Linked DNA regions of Homo sapiens: all the other regions are linked to region 1. The links are contacts of gene promoters, found by promoter capture Hi-C in blood cells and fetal thymus (Javierre and others, 2016). All regions are on one chromosome and are shown on one strand. The core of a region is centred on a gene start or on the middle of the fragment in contact, and the rest is flanking DNA. Distances in the headings are between cores, read along the strand shown. Region 1 holds the start of PNPLA5 (patatin like domain 5, triacylglycerol lipase). Region 2 overlaps LINC00229 (long intergenic non-protein coding RNA 229). Region 3 has its middle 6.5 kb from the start of LINC00207. Region 4 overlaps SCUBE1 (signal peptide, CUB domain and EGF like domain containing 1). Region 5 has its middle 10 kb from the start of LINC00207. Region 6 overlaps SCUBE1 (signal peptide, CUB domain and EGF like domain containing 1). Region 7 has its middle 26 kb from the start of SCUBE1.

Region 1 (3,092 bases), core at 190-2,689:
TGGAGATGAGTTCATTATCGATACCGCCTGCCCCCCAGAACCACTGAGCATAGAAGCCCCAGGAAGGCAAGGGTTTCTGTCTGTTTTGCTCCCTGTTACAGTCACAGTGCCTAGAATAGTGACTGGCACATAATAGGTGTTCAATAAATGTCAACCCACCGCCAAAAAGCGGCGGGAGGATGGAGTGGGGTGGAGGCTGGGGCTAGCCAGCTGCCCTCTGGAAAGAGCAGTCCCTGTGGGGGCCCTGACTCAGCAGCCTGACTCTGCCGGGCCCCAGCCAGACCCTTCTGTGTGCAGCAACCTGGAAAGTCTCCAGACCCACCCTGCCGACCCTCTCTGGGCCTCAGTTTCCTCACCTACAAACAGGTCCACCCGCCCTCCCTCCTTCCGCCCCTGCAGAAACGTCTGACGGGGAAGTACCTGGATGTCACTCTGGACTAGATGGAGCCCGCCCACCAGCCAAGCCCTGGGCACCCCCCGCCCCACACCTGGATGAGCTCATCGCAGGTGGCGAAGTCAGTGACCAAGAAGTTGCGTCCGTCAGGCCAGCGGGTCAGCGAAATGCCCAGCCGCTGGGAGGCCAGGACGTGGGCGTCGGGGGGCAGAGCATCCTGCAGCTGCTGCTTGACGTGCTCGATGGGCGCGTAGGCCGGGTGCAGGATGCTTAGGCTCAGCCGCTCCAACTGCCCAACCATGCCCAGGAGGTGGGAGCAGCAGAAGTCTGCAGTGGGGGCAGGGAAAGGGAGACCTCAGCGCCCAGGGATCCTGCCAGTCCCTCCACACCCCCACTGCCCTCCTAGGTGCAGTGGGAGCGGGGTCCTCCCCACTCCAGCTCAGAATTTCTGGGCTCGGCCCCGGATTCAAATGATCCGTTCACCTTTTCACTTTTTGCCCCGCCGACCTGGGAAACAGAGTTTCTGGCTCTGAGCCACGATCCCTCCTCTGCAAATGGGGGTCACCTAGTCCCCAGCACTCGGTGTTCTCATGGGATTAAATGAGGCTGTGCCGGGGGTAGAGGGCGCAGAGCACAGCGCCAGGCACCAGCGTCTCTGGGCTCGATCCGCTTTCATTAAGCTGTCCCCGCCCCTTTTCGCCCCCGCGGTCCGGGACTCACCGACCGACTTGCCGCAGACGATGCTGACTGCGTTGAGCGCCCCAGACGAGGAACCGTAGATGCGGCGGGCGCCCTGGAGGAGGCGCGGGGCTCGCTGGCGCAGGCATTCGGTGGCGCCCACGTGGTGGGCGCCCAGGTAGCCGGCGCCGGAGAAGGACAGGTTCCATCTGCCCTCCTCCTCTAAGAAGCCCATGGCGGGTGGACCGGGCGGGGTGATCGGGACGAGGAAGGGTCACTCCGTGACCCGGGATAGGGCCGGGATGCAGCCTTGGACGGGGCTGGGCCCAAATGTGGGCTCTGGAGGGAGCCGGGCTGGGGCTGGTGCTGGTGCTCCCTGCGCCGCCCCCGGGCTGCGTCACCTGCGCCCCAGCCAATGAAGTCCCCGGGTCGCGATCAGCCCCCACTCCAGTTGTGCGCCAGGTGTGCCCCAGAAGTGCCCGCGCGCTGTGTATACGCTGGCGCCGCCCCCACGCGCCCGCCCCGGATCCGCATCGGGTCATAGATTTCTGGGTGACACGGCAGGGGAGTGGGACCAAATCTTGCCTGATCTCTGGTAGTCTGGGCAGATGTTATTCCAGTCCTCATTACGCAAATGAGGCAACTGAGGCGCAGCCCAGGATGGTGACAGCCAGGAAGTGGCAGAGTCGGACCCAGGACACCTGGTCTTTGGGGTCAAACCAGGCTTAAGTCCGCAGCTGTGCTGGTTCCAGGGAGGGACTTGAGGGAAAGAGAGGTCTCGGGGCCAGCCTCCGCTCCAGCCAGCACCACTGCACCTTCCCCTGGCTCACCCGCTCTCCAAGCCTCACCTACCACTACAGCCTGCTCAAACATCCCACCTCCTCCCTCCTCCCCTAATCAATCCATTGGAAAGTGCTTTATAAACTGCAAAGCTCCAAGAACTTGGGTTTGTAGTGATTAGGGCTGTCTGGGCTCCAATTCTGGCTCCAGAATGTCTTGGCTGGTGACCCTGGATAATTTAACTGATCTGTGCCTCAGTTTTCTCATCCATCAAGTGGGGATAATAACATTACTTACTCCATAGGACCGGTAAGGATTAGAGTTAATGCAAGTAACGTGTTTGGAATAGCGCCCGGCACTGGATAAGCACACAAACAATGGTTACTACGGTGATTGTTTTAATCAAGTGGCGCACAATCAATGGCAACCGCTATGTTATTTATTTATTTATTTAATTTTGAGGCAGAGTCTCACTCTGTCACCCAGGCTGGGGTGCAGTGGCACAATCTCGGCTTACTGCAACCACCACCTCCCAGGTTCAAGCAATTATCCTGCCTCAGCCTCCCAAGTAGCTGGGACTACAGGCACGCACCACCACGCCCAGCTAATTTTTGTTATTTTCGGTAGAGACAGGGTTTCACCATGCTGCTCAGGCTGGTCTCGAACTCCTGGCCTCAGATGATCTGCCCACCTCAGCCTCCCAAAGTGCTGGGATTACAGGCAGGAGCCACTGCGCCCATCCCTGTGTTACTGCTTTAATCACATGGCACATATCAGTGCCTTCTCATGTGAGCTCCTTGAGGGCCAGGTCCTCCATCTGTGCCTGGAAGAAGTGTGGCACAGTGTTTGTGGACTGAATGCTCAGCCCATGGCCTGGGTGGGTCATTTTCGGAGGAAGAGGTGGGAGGATCTGCTTCTCTTAGCCTCACACCTACCTCTTCCTTGACCTGGGAGTGAAGGGCAGCTTGCCCATGGGCACTGGGTGCAGAAGGCACCCTGGGACAGGCCAGCCCAGCCTCCCCTCCCACAGAGGTGGGCGGTACCGGGCTTTGCTGATCCCACACCAGGGGCGGCATCCTTGCCTCAAAGACCATGGGCCTGCACAGACTCACCCACCTGGTGGCAGGTACCCCAGGCTATCTCCATTGCGGGAAGGACCCAGCCCCAGCTGCAGGGGGTAATTAGAAGCCATGTGCTGACTCTGCTCCAGGAGGGAACCAGGTCACAGCAGGCACAGCCA
Region 2 (3,092 bases), core at 375-2,874, 720 kb after region 1:
ACATTTTAAGGTGTCTCTTGCCCTTTGAGGTCCATAGAACACTTTCAAATATTGGATGTTTCGTGGCAACCTAAGAGGATAAGAAGGTGGGCTCCAGTGGTGAAAAAGCAAGATTTGGAAAACGGAGACCCCCTCGCCCAGGGGTAGCAGTGCCTAGGCCACCTGCAGCATTGACATCAGCAAACTGCCAGGGAGGAGAGTGGAGGCTGCAGAACAGTCAGGTGCAGGCAGGGGCCCAGGGAGGAGGCGAGACCTGAGCAGGGGTGGAGCAGAGGGATGGCCGGTGGTGGGGAAGGAGGATGGGGATGGAGGAGGAGGAGGGTCAGACATGGCGCCCAGTGCCTGGCCTGGGCAGCTAAAACGGCAGCCCCAGGGGAGATGGGAGGCTCAGCCTGCGGTGAACTGAGGGGCCCGGGGCTTCCTCGGGGGATGCCAAGGCTGAGGATGCATGGGGGTTGCAGGAGGGCACAGGCAGAGGCTCAGATGAGAGAGTCGGGGTCGTGGAGATACCAGGAGCCATCAGAATTTGAGTTGACCCAGAGAGAGGCACAGAAAGAGCGGAGGCAGCCGGGACAGGCCCCGAACACACACGGCCAAGAGGAGGCCTGGGAGGGGCATTCAGAGGGAAGGGGCCTCAGAAATGGGGCAGAAAGGAAGGTTCTAGACAGCAAAGGGGCACAGGGTCAGGTGCGGCAGGGAAGGGAGGTGTGGGTACAAATGCGGTCCCCTAAACAGGTTGAGATCCTCACCCCCAGCACCTGTGAGTATGACTTTAAAACCTCACCCGACGGAATCCAGGAGGTGGGAGAGTGTTCTGGAAACAGCAACATCCCCCACAAACGAAGCTTCAGTGACTTCCTTGGGGCCCCTAAGTTCTGAAGGCTCTGGATGTCTGAGACTGGGTCCCAGCCACAGCAGCCTCTCCCGATCCTAAGGCACTGCTAGAGGACCCCTTGGTGATGCCCCATTTCCCTTCCCCGCCCGACTTACGCTCCCAGGACCAGCAACAACAGCTAGAGTGAGGTATATTCCTAGAGCTCTGTCGTTTAACCCTCACGGTGGCCGAGTGGGCAGGTGTGATGATTTGCGCATCTCCCAGGGAGGAAACCCACACATATCAGGGGAACCACAACTTCTCCCAGCTCAGAGAGACAGAGCTGAGCCCTCACCTGCTGGCTGTCAGGTCAGGCCAGCCTCCCACTCCATGACACAGAACGGACCTGAGGGGACCCCTCGGTGAGGCAGGCCTGGGCTCCAGTGCCGGCCCTCTCCCGCTGTGTGGCCTCGGGGAAGCCTCTTCCCCTGTCTGAGCCTCTGCATTCTCATCTGTAGAATGGGGATGCTCTGTCCTGCCTTCCAGAGCGTTGCTGATATCAGAATCCAGGTGTGGAACTTGGGCAGCAGAGTAGCGCCGGTGCCCTCCAGGCCAGCCCATTCTGTCCAGGCTCCAGTTCGGCAGTGGACTCCTCCTGCCCTGACCCTCACCCTCCATCCGCCTGTTTCCCGGGGTACGCTAGTCACCACGCTAAGGATGCCCTGGGGCCAGATACCCTTATGCCCCACCTCCAAGCCCACCAGGTGTGCCTGCCAGTGCTTCACCCTCCTGGGGCTCCACAGGCATCTGGCACCTTGAACCCAGCAGGGCCCCTGGAGACAAAACCCTCATCTACCTTTCACTTAAGCAGGGCCAGAGAGAGGCAGCCTCCTTTCCTTTGCTTTTCAACTGCTCCCAAACCAGCCCCGAAGCAGCCTGCCATGAGGCCCAGACAGCCTGTCCCATCCCAGCCCAGGCAGGATTAATATGCATGTATGGTAATCAGCGAAGCCCAGCAATTTGCATAACAATCAGAGGGAGTGTCCCCTCTCCTGGACTGCTTCCAAGGGCAGCTCCCACCCTGGTTCCCCACAAGACAGCAGGGGAGGGTATGATGGGGCCCCTGGACCCCCCAAGTGCTAGACCGGTGGCCTGGCTTTCAGCCCTGGAGGCTTCAGCCTGGAGAGGGCGGGATAGGTGGGGTACGGGGGTCCTTGGGCAGGGGAAGATACCAGTGAGACACTCATCTGACTGTCTCCAGAACTGTTTCCCGCATTCTTGAGGCCATGCTGGGGAAGCAGGAGAGAAACAAGGGTGTGGCCTCTCCTGGGCCTGCGTCCTGGGGAGGTGTGGAGTTGGGGGGCTCCGGGAAGGGACTCTGCTCGCCTCATCGAGGGGGCCTCTCCTGGGCCTGCATCCTGGGGAGGTGTGGAGTTGGGGGCTCTGGGCAGGGACTCTGCTTGCCTCATTGAGGGAGCCTCTCTTGAGCCTGAAAAATTGGGAAGGTGCCAGGACTCCCTTATAAGGTCGTTTGCCCTTAAGGAGATGGAGGAGAGTGTGTTCTGGAAGCAGCACCGTCCCCCATAAATGAAGCTTCTTATGACTCGGCTGCTTGGCCAACCTCACGGAGCCCCTTCCTTGGGCCCCTGGGGACACAGAGATGCCTGGGCATGGCCCCATCCCTTCTTAAGGGCTCGGCAGAGAGCAGCCAGGCCCTGCAGATCACCCTCATGCACGGGCCAGTCCAAGGTTTCCAGCATCTTGGTAGCTCTGCAGGCAGCGCCCTTCCCCGAGGGGGTCTTAGGCTGTCCCTCCGAACAGATCCCCACTTGCAGGAGGCTGGGCTCTGCTCTCCAAATGCTTGTCCATAATAATGAAACCCTTGCACATCTGCCCAGCACCTAGGAGCTGTCCAGAGTACCACCACATCCCGACCCCTATCACCCCGTGACGGCCCCTCAGTGGGCACTGGAACAGTGGAGCTCAAAGAGGAAGGATCTGGTGCCACCACGCCCCACCCCAGATCAGAGGTAGGAAAACCCAGGACTCAAGAGAGCTGGTCCAGGCCCTGCCCACCATGTCCATCACCCAGCCATCCATGGGCACAGTATGAGCTGGCCCAGGCCCTGCCCACCACGCCCATCACCCAGCCACCCACTGGCACAGTGCCCAACCACTCTTCTCCCCCGCCCCCTGCCTACTCTACTCAGTGACCAGATGAATCTTCTAGCTCCTCCTCTGCCCTGACCTCAGGTGACAAGCTGTGGCTTGCTGGGGA
Region 3 (3,092 bases), core at 268-2,767, 680 kb after region 1:
TCAGGAGTTCAAGGCCACCCTGGCCAACATGGCAAAATCCCGCCTCTACTAAAAATACAAAAAAATTAGCCATGCATGCTGGTACAAGCCTGTAACCCCAGCTACTTGAGAAGCTAAGGCAGGAGAATCCCTTGAACCTGGGAGGCAGAGGTTGCAGTGAGCCGAGATCACTGGGGGTGGGGAGGAAGAAGAGGAGGAGGATGAAGGAGGAGAAAGAGAAGGAGGGAGAGGAGGACCGGTAGCTGAATGGCATGAAGATGACACCACTGCAGGATGGGCCCCAAGGACCACGCCACAGCGGGGGCAGCCGTCATATTGGTGGGCTTCCTGATGGATGGTTCATGTGGGATGGGATTGTTATGGTGATAGGGCAGGCTGCTGAGCCGGAAGGGGCTTGTGAAGGGAACTGCAAATCGGAAGAGGACGGAGCCCACGGTGGGAGCTGGGTTGAGACACCCATCCTGCCCTCCAGGTCCACAGTGCCCTCCCCAGCCCCTGGGACGTGTAGGGTGCCCCCGCCATAGCGCGACTGCCCATCCCCAGAACTGGGAGAGCCGAGAAGCCCTCTCCCCAAGACAGAGCCCTGCGGTCCCCAGCCACAGGCCCTAGGGAGTTCCAAAAGCCTCCCAGGCAATTTACCAGAGCATGTAGCCAGCTAATAAGGTGACTGGATCCTTTGTTCAAAAGTTATCTTTAGACAAGAGCATTTATCAAGTTTAATTAACGTGTCACGGGCTGCAGTGTGAGCGATGGCTCTGAAAGCAGCCCTGATAATACTAATTTTTCTACATTAATGCCAACTCGGCACTGAGTCCCAAGCAGGAAATAGACCGTCAATGCTAACACCACCGAAAAAATAGAGATTTCCCTCCCTAAATCAAATTAAATGTGTTGTGGATGCCTGAGTGGTGTGTGGGAGGCTAAGGTGGGGAGCCTGGGAGGCTCTGGCTGAGAAGCCAGGGTGCGTTGTAAGCTGCCCTGCATCCTGTGGGCTGGGCACCTCCCACCTAGGTCCCACCTGGAGTGGAATCTTTGAGGCAGGTTGGTGTCCTTTCCCCAATTTTACAGAAATAGATGCTGGGGTTCAGGGAGGCCCTGTGAGTCATCCAGGCCACACGGTTTTATAGAGTCTGGCACCAAGATCTGTTCTTCCTCCATCTCACGAGACCCCCAGGCACATGTAACTGCTCAGTCAGTAAACGCTCGCCCAGCACTTACTGTGAGCAGGCACGATTCTAGGTGCCCAGCACCCAGCAGCAGGCAGAGCAGACAAGAGCAACTTCTCCTGGAGCCAATGTGCTGCTGGGACACAGAGGAGGAGGAGGATGACAAGGAGAAGGGGGATGGGAGAAGGAAGAGGAGGAGGAGAAGAAGAAAGAAGGGAGGAGGAGGAAGAAGAGAGAAGCAGAGGAGGGAAAGGAGGAAGAGGAAGAGGGAAAGGAGGAAGAGGAAGAAGGGAAGGAGGAAGGGGAAAGAAGAGGAGGAGGGGGAGGAGAAAGAGGAGAAAGAAGGAGAGGAAGAGAGGGAGGAGAAAGGGAGAAAGAGGAGGAGGAGGGAGGAAGAGGAACAAGAAGGGAGGAGGAGAAAGAGGAAGAAGAGGAAGAAAAGAGGGAGGAGAGGGAAGAAGAGGAGGAGGAGAAAGAAGGGGAGGAAGAGAAGGAGGAGAAGGGGAGAAAGAGGAGGAGGAGGGAGGAAGAAGGAAGGAGGAAGAGGAGGAGGGGGAAAAAGAGGAGGAGGGAGGAGGAAGAGGAGGAAAGGGAGGAAGAGGAGGAGGAGGAAGAGGAGGAGGGAGGAGGTAGAGGAGGAGGGAGGAGGAAGAGGAAGGAGGAGGAGTAAGAGAAAGAAGGAGGAGAAAGAGAAGGAGGCGGAAGGAAGAGGAAGGAGGAGGAAGAGGAGGAGGCAGAGAAGAAAATTAAGTACTGCACCTGCACGTGTTGCCATGTGCTAAGAAGAGATTAGAACAGGATAACGGTCAGGAGAGATGTGAAGTGCTGAGAGGCCACGGGAGATGGGGTGGCCAGGGAAAGCCCTACAAGGAAGTGGCATTTGGGAAGATGCCCAAATTAGAAGGAGTGGGCACAAGAGTAACTGGATCAATGGCATCACAGGCAGAGGGGACAGCAGGTGCCAAGGCCCTGAGGCAGAAGTGAGCTTGGTGCACTGGATGGACGCCAGGAAGCCACCGTGGCTGGAGCAGAGAGGAGAGAGTCGGTCCCCAGCCCTGGGAAAGGGGAGGCTGTGATGGCACTGGCCTGTGCAGTCAGGGTCCTGTGTGGCCAGGTGTGTGGGAGGAACAGCTCCTCACTGGCCTTGCAGGCATCTGAGGCTCAGCAGGATGCCTGCTTTGGATGAGCAGGGCCATTTTGCCAAGCCCTGAGCAGAAGCGTGTGGGCAGCCAGCTGGGATGGAGACTGAGGGAGCTGTGGGGCAGCCAGGTGCCCGTGTGGCCCAGCTGTGGTCTGCTAGAAAGGAGTGCAAAGCTGGGGGGATCCTCTCTCACTGGGGGTGCAGTCTAGGCCCTAGAAACCCTGAGGCACCAGCCTGAAGACAGAAAATGGGCCAGAACCACTCAGTGAGGTTGTCCAGAACTGAGACCACTTTCCCTGCAGAGCATGTGGGGACCGAACAGGCGATCTCAGAGGGAGCCTGGTCCTCATAGAGGTGGGGAAAATGGGCACCGGATCACACCACGGCACAGAGGGTGGAGCAGCCCAACCTAGCCTGGGATCCTGCTTCCATGGACCAGCCGTGTGACCCTGAGCAAGTCCCTTCCCACCTCTGTGCTTCCACGATCTCATCTACGGAAGGGCGAGGAAATCTCGGACTCTTGGATTTGTTGTAAGGAATTGACAACCTCAGACAGGGGAGGTGCCCAGCCCTGCACTTGTCCCAGAGCCCTTGGAAAGTGGAGGCCATTGTCATTAGCACACAGAACCCTTGGGGAGACCAGCAAATAACTAAACAGTAGCAGGCGCGTCCATTTCCTCTGCTGGGTCCTGGGAATAACTCCAGGCCGGTTGAAGGTAAGATCCCAGAGGCATGCTACACAGGGGCAGACTTCAGCTCAGTAGGGACTGAGGGACCCCATGAGG
Region 4 (3,092 bases), core at 410-2,909, 670 kb before region 1:
CTCTTTATCAACAACTTCCCCCCACCCACCCCCCGCCAGGTGTCATCTCTTTACCAACAGCTTCCCTCCCACCCCCACTGCCAGGTGTCACCTCTTTTCCAACAGCTTCCCCCAACACTGCCGTCACCTCTTCTCTAACAGCTTCCCCCCACCCCGCCAGGTGTCACCTCTTTACCAACAGCTTCCCCACCCCGCCAGGTGTCACCTCTTTACCAACAGCTTCCCCACCCTGCCAGGTGTCACCTCTTTACCAACAGCTTCCCCCAACCCCCACCCCCCATCCGCCAGGTGTCACCTCTTCTCCAACAGCTTCCCTCCTCCCCCGCCAGGTATCATTTCTTCTCCTCCGGCTTCCCAGTTTACACCCCTGGCCAACCCTATTGTTTGAGGCTTCGGACTTGTGGCTGCAACTGCCCATCCAACATCTCCATGTGGATGACTTGTGAGCGTCTCAGACTGAACATGTCCAGCCTGCGCACCCCATCCCCGCAGCCCACTCTTCATCAAGTTTCCCTCCCCCCAGCCCACTCTTCCTCAAATCCTTGGGGATTTGGCCGGCGTCAGGAAGCGATACCACCTCTGCCCAATTGGCCAAACCCTTGGAGTCGTCCTTGAAGTCTGTCTCTCCCTAGGAGCCCCCTCCATCTCATGCTCCTCCCCGTCCTTGCTCCGCCCCCGCTACTCAGCCTTCCCGTAAGAGCGCGCATGAGCCTGCGTCCTTGCTCTAAGCATTCCTATGGCTCCCCATCCAACTCAAGAGTGGTGTCTGCCAGGCCCCATCACCTCTGGCCTCACTGTACCTGTGGGCATGTTCACTGGCCCACTGTCCATCTTCCGCACGGGCATGTGAGCTCCACTAGAACTAGGACTGTCTCGTGTGCTGGTTCTGCCTGTCCTGCGTCCAGGCTCTCCCCTCCAGCGCACACCCGCCCGCTGGGGGCCGGCCTCACCTGCTTCCCTGCAGCACGACGCTGCCCTCCTGGGCGGCCCTAGGCCTCACGACATCCCTGCTCTGTCCCCCGACCCTGACTCAGGCTCCCCAACTCCTGGAGCCCTGAGGTCTTAGCTAACGTGACTTCTCCTCCAGGAAGCTTCCCTGAACCACATCCCAGACTAGAGAGGGCCTGTTCTGGTTCCCGTGCCCCCTCGCGCCCCTCGACTGTGGCCTTGCTGTCCTGTCCACTCCTTGTCCCTCCTCAGACTGTGATCACATGCCCGAGGCCCAGCACAGAGGAGTGCTCTTCAAATGACAGTGATGACCATGAGGGCTGCAGTCCTTCTCCCCGGCAGGCCTCTGCATCTCTCTGTCCCCTCCCCAGGTGTCTGTCTCACCTGCGTGCCCACCACTGTTTACCCCGGCTCATGTGCAAGGAAGGACAGAGTCAGCATCTGAGTGGCCATGGGCAAGGACTCACCGCATTTGCTGTCCTGTAGCACCTGGCCTGCGCCACATGCCCCCTGCCCCTCCAGCGCCTTGGCTGGCCTCTGGGCTACCTCGTACTCAGTGCCTGAGACCTGGACATAGAACTGCTGCCGGCCGATGGACTTGCGCAGGGTCTTGATGGCGGCCTGCAGGCTCTGTTCTGCTCGCTTCCGCAAGCAGTCCGCTTCGCATGTGTCTGCAGGGGCAGGAGAGACAGAACATGAATCGCTGGCAACCTTGCTAGCCGCTGCCTTCTTAGCTGAGGGCTCCCCCGTGCCAGGCCCTGCACTGGGCTCGGACCTCCTCAGCACATTCTCACAACAGTCCTGGGGCAAGGGGCCACTGTCATGCCCATCTGACAGATGAGGAGGCTGCGGACCTGGGAGGCAGGGCCTGCCCACGGCCACGCAGCAGATCTGAGTGCAATCCAGGCAGCTGCCACTGCACCACATCACCCCCCAGGGTACGACTCACGGGGCAAGAACGCCTTTCTGTCACTCAAAGACTCTTGGGGACTGCCACTGTCCCCAGGATAGTGTCCAGCTCTCTGGCCTTGAATCCAAGGCCCTTCAAGGTCCAGCCCCGTATGGCCTTGCCAGCCTCATCCCCTCCACTCTGACACTCCCTGTGGATTCCAATGTCTAGCCACCTGGCCCTACTTACTGCTTCCTGGACACCTCCTCCTCTCTCTGACCTCTGTGCCTTTGCCTATTCTATTCCCTCTGCCTGAATGCCATTCCTTGCCACCTTTTCCACCCAGTGAGCTTTGATTCTAAGCTCTCATTCAAATGGCACCTCTTCTGGGAAAGCTTCCTGATATGGTTTCAATATTTGTCTCTTCCAAACCTCATGTTGAAATCTGATCCCTAATGCTGGGGGTGGGGCCTGGTGGGAGGTGTCTGGGTCATGGGGTAGGTCCCTCATGAATGGCCTGGTGTGGTAGTCAGTTCTTGCTGGCTCTACTAGTCGCCACGAGATGTGACTGGTGAAGACATAGGCACCCCCTCCCCTCTCTCTTGCTCCCTTACTCTTGCTATGTGATGCCAGCTGCTCTTCACCTTCCTCCGTGAGCAGAAGCAGCCTAAGGCCTCGCCAGGCAGATGCTGCTGCCGTGTTCTCGGACAGCCTGCAGAGCCGAGAGCCAATAAGCTCTTTTCCTGATAAATTATGCAGCCTCAGGTGTTCCTTTTAGCAACGCAAATAGACTAAAACATTTCCTTTTTTTTTTTTTGAGATAGAGTCTCACTCGTCGCCAGGCTGGAGCACAGTGGCGCGATCTCAGCTCACTGCAATCTCTGCCTCCCAGGTTCAAGCGATTCTCCTGCCTCAGCCTCCTGAGTAGCTGGGATTACAGGTGCCTGCCACCACACCTGGCTAATTTTTGTATTTTTAGTAGAGACAGGGTTTCACCATGTTGGCCAGGCTGGTCTTGAACTCCTGAACTCAAGTGATCCACCCACTTTGGCCCTCCCAGACTGCTGGGATTACAGGCGTGAGCCAGTGTGCCCAGCCAGACTAAGACATTTCCTAAGCCCTCCCGTGGGGGGCAGACCTCAGTTCTATGCATTGTTTGTTCTTGTGCCCCCACCACCGAGAGTCCCACCTGGCAATGGGTGGTTTGCACGTGCGTCTGCCTCTCTGGCTGAGAGTGTTACCTGGGTGGGGACTT
Region 5 (3,092 bases), core at 375-2,874, 670 kb after region 1:
TAAAATTCAACGGTCATTTGTCAGAAAAAACTCTTAGCAAACTAGGAATGAAAAGATACTTCCGCAACCTGATGGAAGGTGTGTACAAACAAAGCTCAACAAAATTCTACAGTTCGCATCACACATCACCATGAAGAATAAATGCTTCCTCCCGAAGATTCAAAGCAAGGCAGGGATGTGAGCTTTCTCTTCAACATTAGACTGGAGGGCCTGCCCAGGGAAACTCAGCAGGAAAAAAAATGTTTAAGCTTACAAATGGAAAGAAAGAGATAGACCTGTCTTTATTCACAGATAATATTATATATGTTGGAAATGCTAAGGGATCTTTTAACTGCTTTACTAGAAAGCAAATTTAACAAGGTCACAGGATAAAAAGGCAATAGAGAAAGACACATTTCTATACACTGTAATGACTGATATTAAAAGTGATACCTTTGCAATACCATAAAAAACATCAAATACTTAGGAATACATTTAATAAAATACATGTAAAGCCTCTACACTAAAGGCTATAAAATAATGTGTACAGGCCAGGCACAGTGGCTCATGCCTCTAATACTAATACTTTGGGAGGCGAGGCGGGAGGATCACCTGAGGTCAGGAGTTTGAGACCAGCCTGGCCGACATGATGAAACCCTGTCTCTACTAATAAAAAAATACAAAAATTAGCCAGGTGTGGTGGTGGGTGCCTGTAATCCCAGCTACCCAGGAGGCTGAGGTAGGAGAATAGCTGAAACCCGGGAGGTGGAGGCTGCAGTGAGCAGAGATCATGCCACTGCACTCCAGCCTGGGAGCCAGGCTCCATCTCTAATGATAATAATAATAATAATAGTAATGTGTACTGAGATAAAATAAAGACGAAATAAGCAAACGGGGAGAGATACCATGATCATTGACTGGAAGATTCAATATTTATAAGATAGCAATTTGCCCCAAATTTATCTAATGATTCAATGCAATCCCAATCAAAATCTCGACAAACCAATCTATAGTGGCAAAAAGCAAATCGGTGATTGCCTAGGGGCCAGGGTGGGTTGGGCATTAAGGAAACAGAAGAGTCAGAGGAAAACTCCTGGGGCTGAGGCTCATGTCCATTGTCTTGATTGTGACGATGGCCCACACATGAACACACGCTTCATAACTTACTAAACTGTGTACTTTAAATGTGTGTCATCTATTATATGTCAATTATAGCTCAATGATAATGTTTTTTAAATAATTTAATCTCAGTAGTCATTTTTTTTGTTTTGATTTGTTTTTTTTGTTTTGTTTTGTTTCAGACAGTCTCACTCTGTCACCCAAGCTGGAGGGCAGTGGCACAGTCTCAGCTCACTGCAACCTCTGTCTCCCGGGCTTAAGCAATCCTCCTGCCTCAGCCTTGTGAGTCACTGGGACTACAGGCACGCACCACCACGCCCAGCTAATTTTTTTGTATTTTTGGTAGAGACGGGGTTTCACCATATTGCTCAGGCTGGTCTTGAACTCCTGACCTCAAGTGATCCACCCACCTCGGCCTCCCAAAGTGCTGAGATTACAGGTGTCAGCCACCGCGCCCAGCCCTAGCAGTCATTTTTAAAGTTAAAAGTTGATTCTTTTTTAAAAATAAAGAAAAGAAGTTGAATTGGCTCACAATTCTGCATGGCACCAACATCTGCTTGGCTTCCGTCAAGGACCTCTGGAACTTTGCAGTCATAGCAGAAGGTGAAGGAGAGGCAGGCACCTCACATGGCAAGAGCAGAGCAAAGGAGATGGGGGAGCAGCAACGCACACTTTTCCTTTTTTTTTTTTTTTTTAATTTTTTTTTTTTGGAGATGGAGTCTCACTCTGTTGCCCAGGCTGGAGTGCAGTGGCACGATCTTTGCTCACTGCAACCTCCGCCTCATGGGTCCAAGCGATTCTTCTGCCCCAGCCTCCCGAGTAGCTGGGACTACGGGCACGTGCCACCATGCCCAGCTAATTTTTGTATTTTTTTTTTAGTAGAGACAGGGTTTCACCATATTGGCCAAGCTGATCTCGAACTCTTGACCTCGTGATTCACCCGCCTCGGCCTCCCAAAGTGCTGGGATTACAGGCGTGAGCCACCACGCCAGGCCGCGACACACACTTTTAAACAAGCAGGTCTCATGAGTACGCACTCACTACGCGGAGAACAGCACCAAGCCATAAGGGATCCACCCCCATGATCCAATCACCTCCCATCAGGCCCCACCTGCAACATTGAAGGTAATCAACGTGAGATTTGAGTGGGGACAAATATCCAAACTACATCATTCTGCCCCTGGCGCCCCCAAATCTCATGTCCTTCTCACATTGCAAAATACAATCATACCTTCCCAATAGTCCCCTGAAATCTTAACTTATTCCACCATTAACTCAAAAGCCCCACATCTGGTCTAAAGTCTCACCTGAGACCCACTCCTCAGTACAGTTTCTGTGTTAGACCACTCATGCATTGCTATAAAGAAATACATGAGACTGAATAATTCATAAAGAAAAGATAATTAATTGGCTCATGGTTCTGCAGACTGTACAACCACGGCTTCAACATCTGCTTAGCTTCTGTGAGGGCCTCTGGAATCTTACAAGCATCACAGTTGATTCCAAAACGTATGCAGAAATTGGAAAACATTGAATAGCCAAAAAAAAAAGTTCAAAAAGAAAAATAAGTTTGGAGGACTTTTACGACATAATTTCAAGACTTGCTATAAAGTTATGATAGTGAAGACAGTACAATAATGGCATAAACATAGACAAATAAAAGCACTAGAACAGAATAGAGGCCAGAAGGAAACTCATGTTTATACGGTCAATTGATTTCTTTTTACCTTAGGTGCTAAAGCAAGTTAAGGAAAAGAAAAAACTTTTTAACAAATGGTACCCAAACAACTGACTATACCTACATCTATAACCCTGAGGGGTTACCCTCCATTCTTTAGCTGAGTACTGATCAGCACATGCGTGTGAGGAAGTGACCTCAGATTAGAAAAAGAAACACTGGAACAAAGCTTAAAATCAAGCCTCAGAAGGATCCAACTGTTTCCAAGTAACTGATTTAATGCCCAGAAAATTTTGTAAAAAATATTTAAAGGAAT
Region 6 (3,092 bases), core at 358-2,857, 640 kb before region 1:
GGACTTGCCATCAAGCTTTTGTTCCTCCCTGGCATTCCAGAGTGCCCTAGTGACATGCTCATGGCCAGTGATGGTGAAGAAGGAAAGGATGGAAAGTGGCTGAGCACCTGCTACGGGCCACACACAGGGCCAGGTGCAGCCTGTCCAGTGCCTCAGCTAAGCTTCTCCAGAGACTAGAAGCCATCTCTGTAAATGAGAAACTGAAGCTCAGATGTGAGCTGGCCCTGGGGTGCTGGTGGAGCTAGTGACTGGGGAAGCCAGGACTGAACCCCGGTCTGACTCTAGAATCTGGCTCAGGATAACCAGAAAGGATCACCGTGTGCTTGACTGGAGTGAAGCTCCAACCACGGATTTCTCTGCTCTAAGAACAAATGCACGGTCCTTACAGCAATGACACAGCCTGGCTGAGCAACCTGAAACCACCCACCTTCCTTGGGTCAGACCAGGAAATCTCGCCTCAGGAAGCTGGGAGCTGCTGGGAGCTGCTGGGAGCTGCCTGCTACTCCTCAGTCAAGTCAGGGCTAACCTTGGCCTGCAGTCACCACCTGGCCCGCCCTTAGCTGGATCCAACTAGAGAGAGGCAAGGGTGGCTTGGATGGGGAGGGCTGCAGGAGGAGCAGGCCGTTGCCCCCCAGGTAGGTGGGGTGAGAGGGAGCCAGCGGGCAGGGTGGCAGAGGGGCCCGGTCGGGCCTGTTTTTACACTTGGGCTCCTCCTGAGAATGCAGGTGAAGAGGGTGCCCTGTTCTTGGGCACCTTCCATTACAGCTCCAGTGGACATCAGTATTACCATGTGGGCCTGCAGGGCCGGGGGGTCAGGACTGGATTAGCAAAAATGGCAGGAGGTCACAGAGGGCACTGAGGTTGCATCTCGAAGGGCTTTGGGGCCCACTTAGACCAGCGGCCAAGAAACCTAGGGGAGGATTAAGGCAGGGCTGGAGCCTATTCAGATTTGTGCCAAAGAGGGCTCTGGCCGTGGCCTCACAGCTGGTGGGGCTGGGAGACAGGGAGGCTGGGCCAGAATCTAGGAGAGAGGAAACAGGGCAGGCAGTGAGATGTGGTCTTGGATGTTTAAACATTAGATGAGAGTTGAGGACCAAAAGGAGCAGATGGGGGTCAAGTGTGCCCCACCTCCATTGGGATGGAGTACAGTGGGAGGGAAGCTGGGGGGCGAGGGGTAGGGCCACCCAAGAGTGCCAGGCCCAACGCACAAGGTGGCCTGGGTGGGCCACAGCCCCTCTAGGCTTCAGCCTCCCATCTGGGCCAGGCAATGCCCCGAGCCCTCGTCTTTTCTCTACTAAGCCCTGCCTGGCACTGCGACTCCACCCACACTCCAGCCCTCCGCACAGCGGAGTCGCCATCACCTACTTCCCCCTACAAGCCCCAGCTGTGAGTGTGAGACAGTGAGGGACTCAACTGAGGGCAGGGCCCAGGACTCAACCTGGCTGGGGGCCCCAGCTGACCAGACACCAGCCATATTTGGAGCCAGTCCAGTGACTGAGGTGTAGCCTGACCACCTGATCCTTCTCTAACAGGAGCCCAGTCCCTGGAGCTCAGTGGGCAGGGAGGCCACGACTTGAGAGGGGCTTGCCCCCGCTTTCCTTCAGCCAGGCCACCTGATGAGCACTGGGCCTGGGGAGCGGCCCTGTGATATCACCTCCCTCACCAGCACTCAGACCTGCCTGAGTCCCTTCCCACTTCCAAGCACGTCCAGGCTGCAGGGCCTGCCCTCTCTCTGAGCTGGATACCTGCCTGCCTGGGCACTGAGGCCCCATCCATCCCCGGGCACCTCCTCCAGGAAGCCTTCATTCATGTGCTGAGCCAACTAGCCTCACCCATGCTCCCGCTCTGGGCAAGGCCCTGTGCTGTGCCCTGAGGGGGGGCACCAAGCTGGAAAAGACCTAGCTTCTGCCCCCAGTCAGGGGGTGCTGGTGGAGGAAGGGTGAGTGGTGGGACAGGGGAGGAAGGACAAGCAAAAGGCAGCCTTTGTCAGGTAGAACCACCCAAGATGGCACCTGGGTAGAGAGAAGAGGATGTGACCCCTGGAGGCAGGGAGTCCAGGAAAGGCTGAGCATGCAGGGCCAGAGGAACAGGCAGAGGGTGGCTTCCAGGAGTGGGTGAATGTGCGGGGTGGGGACTGGGACATAGATTGGTGAAATCAGGGACACCCGGGACCCTGGAGATGGTCGCTGCAGAAGAGGAGGTACGGGCGGGGTGGAGGGGAGCTGGGGTGGACGGGAGCTGGGGTGGAGGGGAGCTAGCGGGGAGAAGCAGGAATGCACATGTCCCGATGAGAAGTGACATTGGCCATGCCGCTCAGGGTGGCTGTGCACTTAAATGATGCTGGGGACAGTGTGGGACACAGTGTGTGCCCCCTAAGTGTCAGCCACCATTTCCACAGTGGCCTCCACTCTCCTCGGTCTTCCCTGGCCTCCCAGTTCTCCAGCCTCCCTGCCTGCTTTTCTCAGGATGAGCAGCCCCTTACCAAGCTCTGGCCTGTGTGCTGGGCCCTTCCATCCTTTCTTTCCCTTCCAGCTCCTTTGAGCCTGGCAGGGTGAAGCAGGTCATGGCCATTTGGGGGACGGGAAACCCGGGGCTCAGAGGGGTGAGGCTGTAGCCCCGTGAGCTGCAGTGGGAAAGCTCCTCTCTTCTCCCCCTGCCAGCAGGACAGTGGGCCCTGAGTGCAGCCACGCGGCCCAGAGGGCTTGGCTGGGGGTGGCCAGGACATAGATGGCGGGATGGCTGGGGAGACAGGTCTAGGGGCAGAAGGGCGGGGAAAAGCCAGGGGAAGCCTGGGACTCCACCTGGCCCTGCCTGCTCACCTGCAGATCTGTCCCTGGCGGCTTCCCTTTCTGGTGCTTTGCACCTCAGTGCCCCAACTGCGTCACACAGCTGATGCACAGTGAGTGCTTCCTACGTGCCTGGCACCGCGCTAAGCACCTGCTACTTAGTCACTCATTTCATCCTCAAATCGATAGGAAGTACACGCTATCACGATCACCATTTTACAGCTGAGGAAACAGGCTGAGGGAAGTTAAAAAATTCGCCTGAGCAAGCAAAGCTTCCAGGGAGTGGACAGAACTGGTACCCAGGCC
Region 7 (3,092 bases), core at 383-2,882, 520 kb before region 1:
TTCTTTTAGAATTTTTAAGGTTCAATTTTTTGGTTTAAATTTTGGACCCATGTGGAACTGATCTGGGTGTAGGGGGTGAGGTAGGGATTCTGTTTTATTTTTTCCAGATGGCCGCTACCCACTTATCTCTATGCCTTACTTTGAACAATGCACCTTTCCCCTCCGATGTGAAATTCCTTCTCTCATTCACGTGCTGAAATCCTACATATTTCCATCCATTTCTGCACTCGCGTCTGGATGGAACTGTCTACTTCTTTTCCAGGGCTAAACTTTAAAAGTTATTGTACTTTCCTAAGATGTTTTAACATCTGGTAAAGCCAGCCCTCCTCCACTACTTTTGTTTTTCCTCAGAATTTCCCTGGCTGGTCTCGCACGTTTATTTTTCCAGATGAAATTTGGTATCATTTCGTCAAGTTCCAAAAAATAAAAGAAAATAAAAACCCTGTTGGTTTAAGGCTTTTCTTACCAGCCAGTGTAGTGTTTTCACAGATTATTGATATTAACCCTTTGCCATTCATTTGGTTGTCAATTTAGTTCCCCTCTACCCCCATTAGTTTTTTATTCTGTGGTATGGGAGATTTGTTTTTTGTTTTTATATAGTCGTCAATCACTTTTGCTTCTCCTCAAAAAAAAAATCTCCTTAATGATTTTAAAGCTCGAAGACTTCCCATTCCTCCTGAGATCTGGTTAATATTCACTTATATTTTTGACCAGCCCTCCTAGGGTTTGCTTTGCTTGATAAATAATTTATTTTTTTCAGCATCTGTGAAAGATATGAAGAAGGCATCCAAGCTGATTTTTTTTTTTTTTTGAGATGGAGTTCTGTTCTTTTTGCCTAGGCTGAGTGCAATGGTGTGATCTTGGCTCACTGCAACCTCCGCCTCCCCGGTTCAAGCGATTCTCCTGCCTCAGCCTCCCAAGTAGCTGGAATTGCAGGCATGCACCACCACGCCTGGCTAATTTTGTATTTTTAGTAGAGACGGGGTTTCTGCATGTTGGTCAGGCTGGTCTTGAACACCTGACCTCAGGTGATCCACCTGCCTCGGCCTCCCAAAGTGGTGGGATTACAGGTGTGAGCCACTGCGCCCGACCCCCAAGCTGCTTTTATATTGGCTACTCCTTCCATTGTTCTTTGCCCACTGAAGACAGCTTGGTCATGTATTAAATTCATGTACATGAGAACATTTCTCTGCTCTCTGGTCAGTTCCATTCATGCCAGCTCTGCTGTTTAATCAGAGACTTAATCATCTATTTGAACATCTGAGAGGGCTGATTGCGCACATTTCTCAAAATATTCTTTGGATTTCTCACCCTTTTATTTCCCAAAATACCCCAGCCTGCATGATTCATTTGGCCCTCGAAGGAACCCTGAGAAGTATTAATTCCACTAGCTGGATGTGCTGGGGTTCAAAAATTGCTAAGGGCCAGATGAGACGACACCGTTATCATAGCTGTGAGAGGGAAAAGTTTGCCTCTGCATCTGAAACTCCCAGAGGAAGGAGGTTGTCTCCATTACTGAGTTTGACAGGAAGAGAAAAAGAGGGGCGTGGTGGATATGCAGTGGTGTCTAATACTCAGCCTCAGATGATCTGTTGTGGGGGCCATCACTTGGCCCTCTTACGTAAAAGCTGCCGCCCACAGTGAGTCAGTGTGGGGGACATCTGGGAAAGAGGCAGGGAGTCCCATCTGGACTGGGGAGTGGGGACCAGGGTGGGATTGGAGATGGGATGAGGGTCTCCTGCCTCCCTGGGGCACCACTGCTCTGTGGATTCTACTTTGTCTCTGTGACCTCAGGTGCTTGGTGTGTCTCTTGGGGGCCTCTTATGTCCGTGCCCATGTCATTAGCGTGTGAGGTGACAGCCCTCTGCCGCCCCAGCTTCTTTTTTGGAGCACGGGTCTCAGATGAGGGGCTGGCTGAGCAGCTGTGGGAGGACCCCTCATTTGCAACTGACATCGATAGGTCAAGCCCAGCAGCCCCTGAATGAGCAGGAAGATTGGTGCAGCTGGGGTCTTCCACAGGCAGGCGATTCCCTCCCTGCTGGGATCGTCAACCAATCTGGGGCCGTAACTCACACGGGGAACCACCCCCAACCCCCAACCACCGTGCTTGGTGTTGGAGGGCCAGAGGGTGTCTCCCAAGTCAAAGACAAAGTCTCCAGGGCAAACAGGAAAAGCCATGGCTACCCCGTCCCCGGGGCCTCACCTGGCAGCCCTGGCTTGCAGGCTCTGTCTAGGATCCGGGAACAGTGTTTATTTCTTCTCTTTATTTTTAGCTTTTATTTTCATGAAACTTATACAGGCAAATAGCTCTACAAGGTTTGTTAAGAGGAACAGCAGTTCCCTGTTCCTGTCCTTCACCCCCTCCTGTCCCCTCCCCAGAGGCAACTATTTCACCTCCTTTAACCAATTATTTTGTTTTTACCCTGTGTCATTTGCCTCTGAGACTGCATCTTTTTTTTTTTTTTTTTGTGACGGAGTCTTTGCTCTGTCGCCCAGACTGGAGTGCAGTGGCATGATCTCGGCTTATTGTAATCTCTTCCTCCTGGGTTCAAGTGATTTTCCTGCCTCAGCCTCTTGAGTAGCTGGGATTACAGGCGCCCGCCACCACACCTGGCTGATTTTTGTATTTTTAGTACAGGTGGGGTTTTGCCATGTTGCTCAGGCTGGTCTTGAACTCCTGACCTCAGGTGATCTGCCTGCCTCAGCCTCCCAAAGTGCTGGGATTACAGGCATGAGCCACTCTGCCTGGCCTCTGAGACTCCATCTTGATTTTTTTTTTTTTTAGTTGTCAGCCTCATTGGTTGACCTCTGTTTCTGGAAGGTGAGGATATCGCTGCCTCCTGACCCCTACTCACTGTGCGCACCTGCCCCCCACCCTCAGACCTGTTTTTAGGACACCAGCATTGTCAGTGGTGAAGGGCATGGAGTTCTAAGCCACTTTTCCGGGTTCTAGTCCTCCTTCTGCCACTTAGCTGTGTGATCCTGGACAAATTCTTCAGCCTCTTGGTTGATTGCCTTCTACCTGGCCTTGCTTTCAATGAGTCAATTCATGTAAATGGCTTCCAGCAGCAAATAAATGACTGTCCTCTTTG

The links. The method cuts DNA at HindIII sites, captures the fragments that hold promoters and counts their contacts. A CHiCAGO score of 5 or more calls a contact.
Region 2: a fragment that was not itself captured here is called in contact with the fragment with the promoter of PNPLA5 in region 1 in 4 of 17 cell types (total B cells, M1 macrophages, M0 macrophages and 1 more); the score reaches 6.5 in total B cells.
Region 3: a fragment that was not itself captured here is called in contact with the fragment with the promoter of PNPLA5 in region 1 in 1 of 17 cell types (M2 macrophages); the score reaches 5.7 in M2 macrophages.
Region 4: a fragment that was not itself captured here is called in contact with the fragment with the promoter of PNPLA5 in region 1 in 1 of 17 cell types (endothelial precursors); the score reaches 5.0 in endothelial precursors.
Region 5: a contact is called between a fragment that was not itself captured here and the fragment with the promoter of PNPLA5 in region 1, in 3 of 17 cell types (total B cells, M0 macrophages and total CD4 T cells). The highest score is 7.2, in total B cells.
Region 6: a contact is called between a fragment that was not itself captured here and the fragment with the promoter of PNPLA5 in region 1, in 4 of 17 cell types (M1 macrophages, M0 macrophages, endothelial precursors and 1 more). The highest score is 8.3, in M1 macrophages.
Region 7: a fragment that was not itself captured here is called in contact with the fragment with the promoter of PNPLA5 in region 1 in 1 of 17 cell types (endothelial precursors); the score reaches 5.1 in endothelial precursors.

The regions. Positions count from the first base shown.
Region 1 is chr22:43,890,574-43,893,665 of GRCh38, forward strand. PNPLA5 (patatin like domain 5, triacylglycerol lipase) reads right to left here and starts at 1,440. Exons shown (of 9, transcript NM_138814.4): 1 at 1,115-1,440; 2 at 489-721. The coding sequence starts at 1,307. The HindIII fragment of the contact is 5,727 bases long and covers 1-3,092 here.
Region 2 is chr22:44,606,979-44,610,070 of GRCh38, forward strand. It overlaps LINC00229 (long intergenic non-protein coding RNA 229), which reads right to left. Exons shown (of 5, transcript NR_044991.1): 4 at 1-70. Among named protein-coding and RNA genes, the nearest start is that of LINC00229, 17 kb to the right of the region's middle. RefSeq lists an enhancer at 225-930. The HindIII fragment of the contact is 1,562 bases long and covers 844-2,405 here.
Region 3 is chr22:44,574,310-44,577,401 of GRCh38, forward strand. No RefSeq gene overlaps it. Among named protein-coding and RNA genes, the nearest start is that of LINC00207, 6.5 kb to the left of the region's middle. RefSeq lists an enhancer at 1-443. The HindIII fragment of the contact is 6,735 bases long and covers 1-3,092 here.
Region 4 is chr22:43,216,840-43,219,931 of GRCh38, forward strand. It overlaps SCUBE1 (signal peptide, CUB domain and EGF like domain containing 1), which reads right to left. Exons shown (of 22, transcript NM_173050.5): 15 at 1,416-1,619. Among named protein-coding and RNA genes, the nearest start is that of SCUBE1-AS2, 5.7 kb to the left of the region's middle. The HindIII fragment of the contact is 1,141 bases long and covers 1,090-2,230 here.
Region 5 is chr22:44,557,490-44,560,581 of GRCh38, forward strand. No RefSeq gene overlaps it. Among named protein-coding and RNA genes, the nearest start is that of LINC00207, 10 kb to the right of the region's middle. The HindIII fragment of the contact is 2,757 bases long and covers 247-3,003 here.
Region 6 is chr22:43,247,097-43,250,188 of GRCh38, forward strand. All of the region lies in intron 6 of SCUBE1 (signal peptide, CUB domain and EGF like domain containing 1), which reads right to left. Among named protein-coding and RNA genes, the nearest start is that of SCUBE1-AS1, 27 kb to the right of the region's middle. RefSeq lists an enhancer at 435-936. The HindIII fragment of the contact is 2,897 bases long and covers 160-3,056 here.
Region 7 is chr22:43,368,142-43,371,233 of GRCh38, forward strand. No RefSeq gene overlaps it. Among named protein-coding and RNA genes, the nearest start is that of SCUBE1, 26 kb to the left of the region's middle. RefSeq lists an enhancer at 1,492-1,993. The HindIII fragment of the contact is 4,109 bases long and covers 1-3,092 here.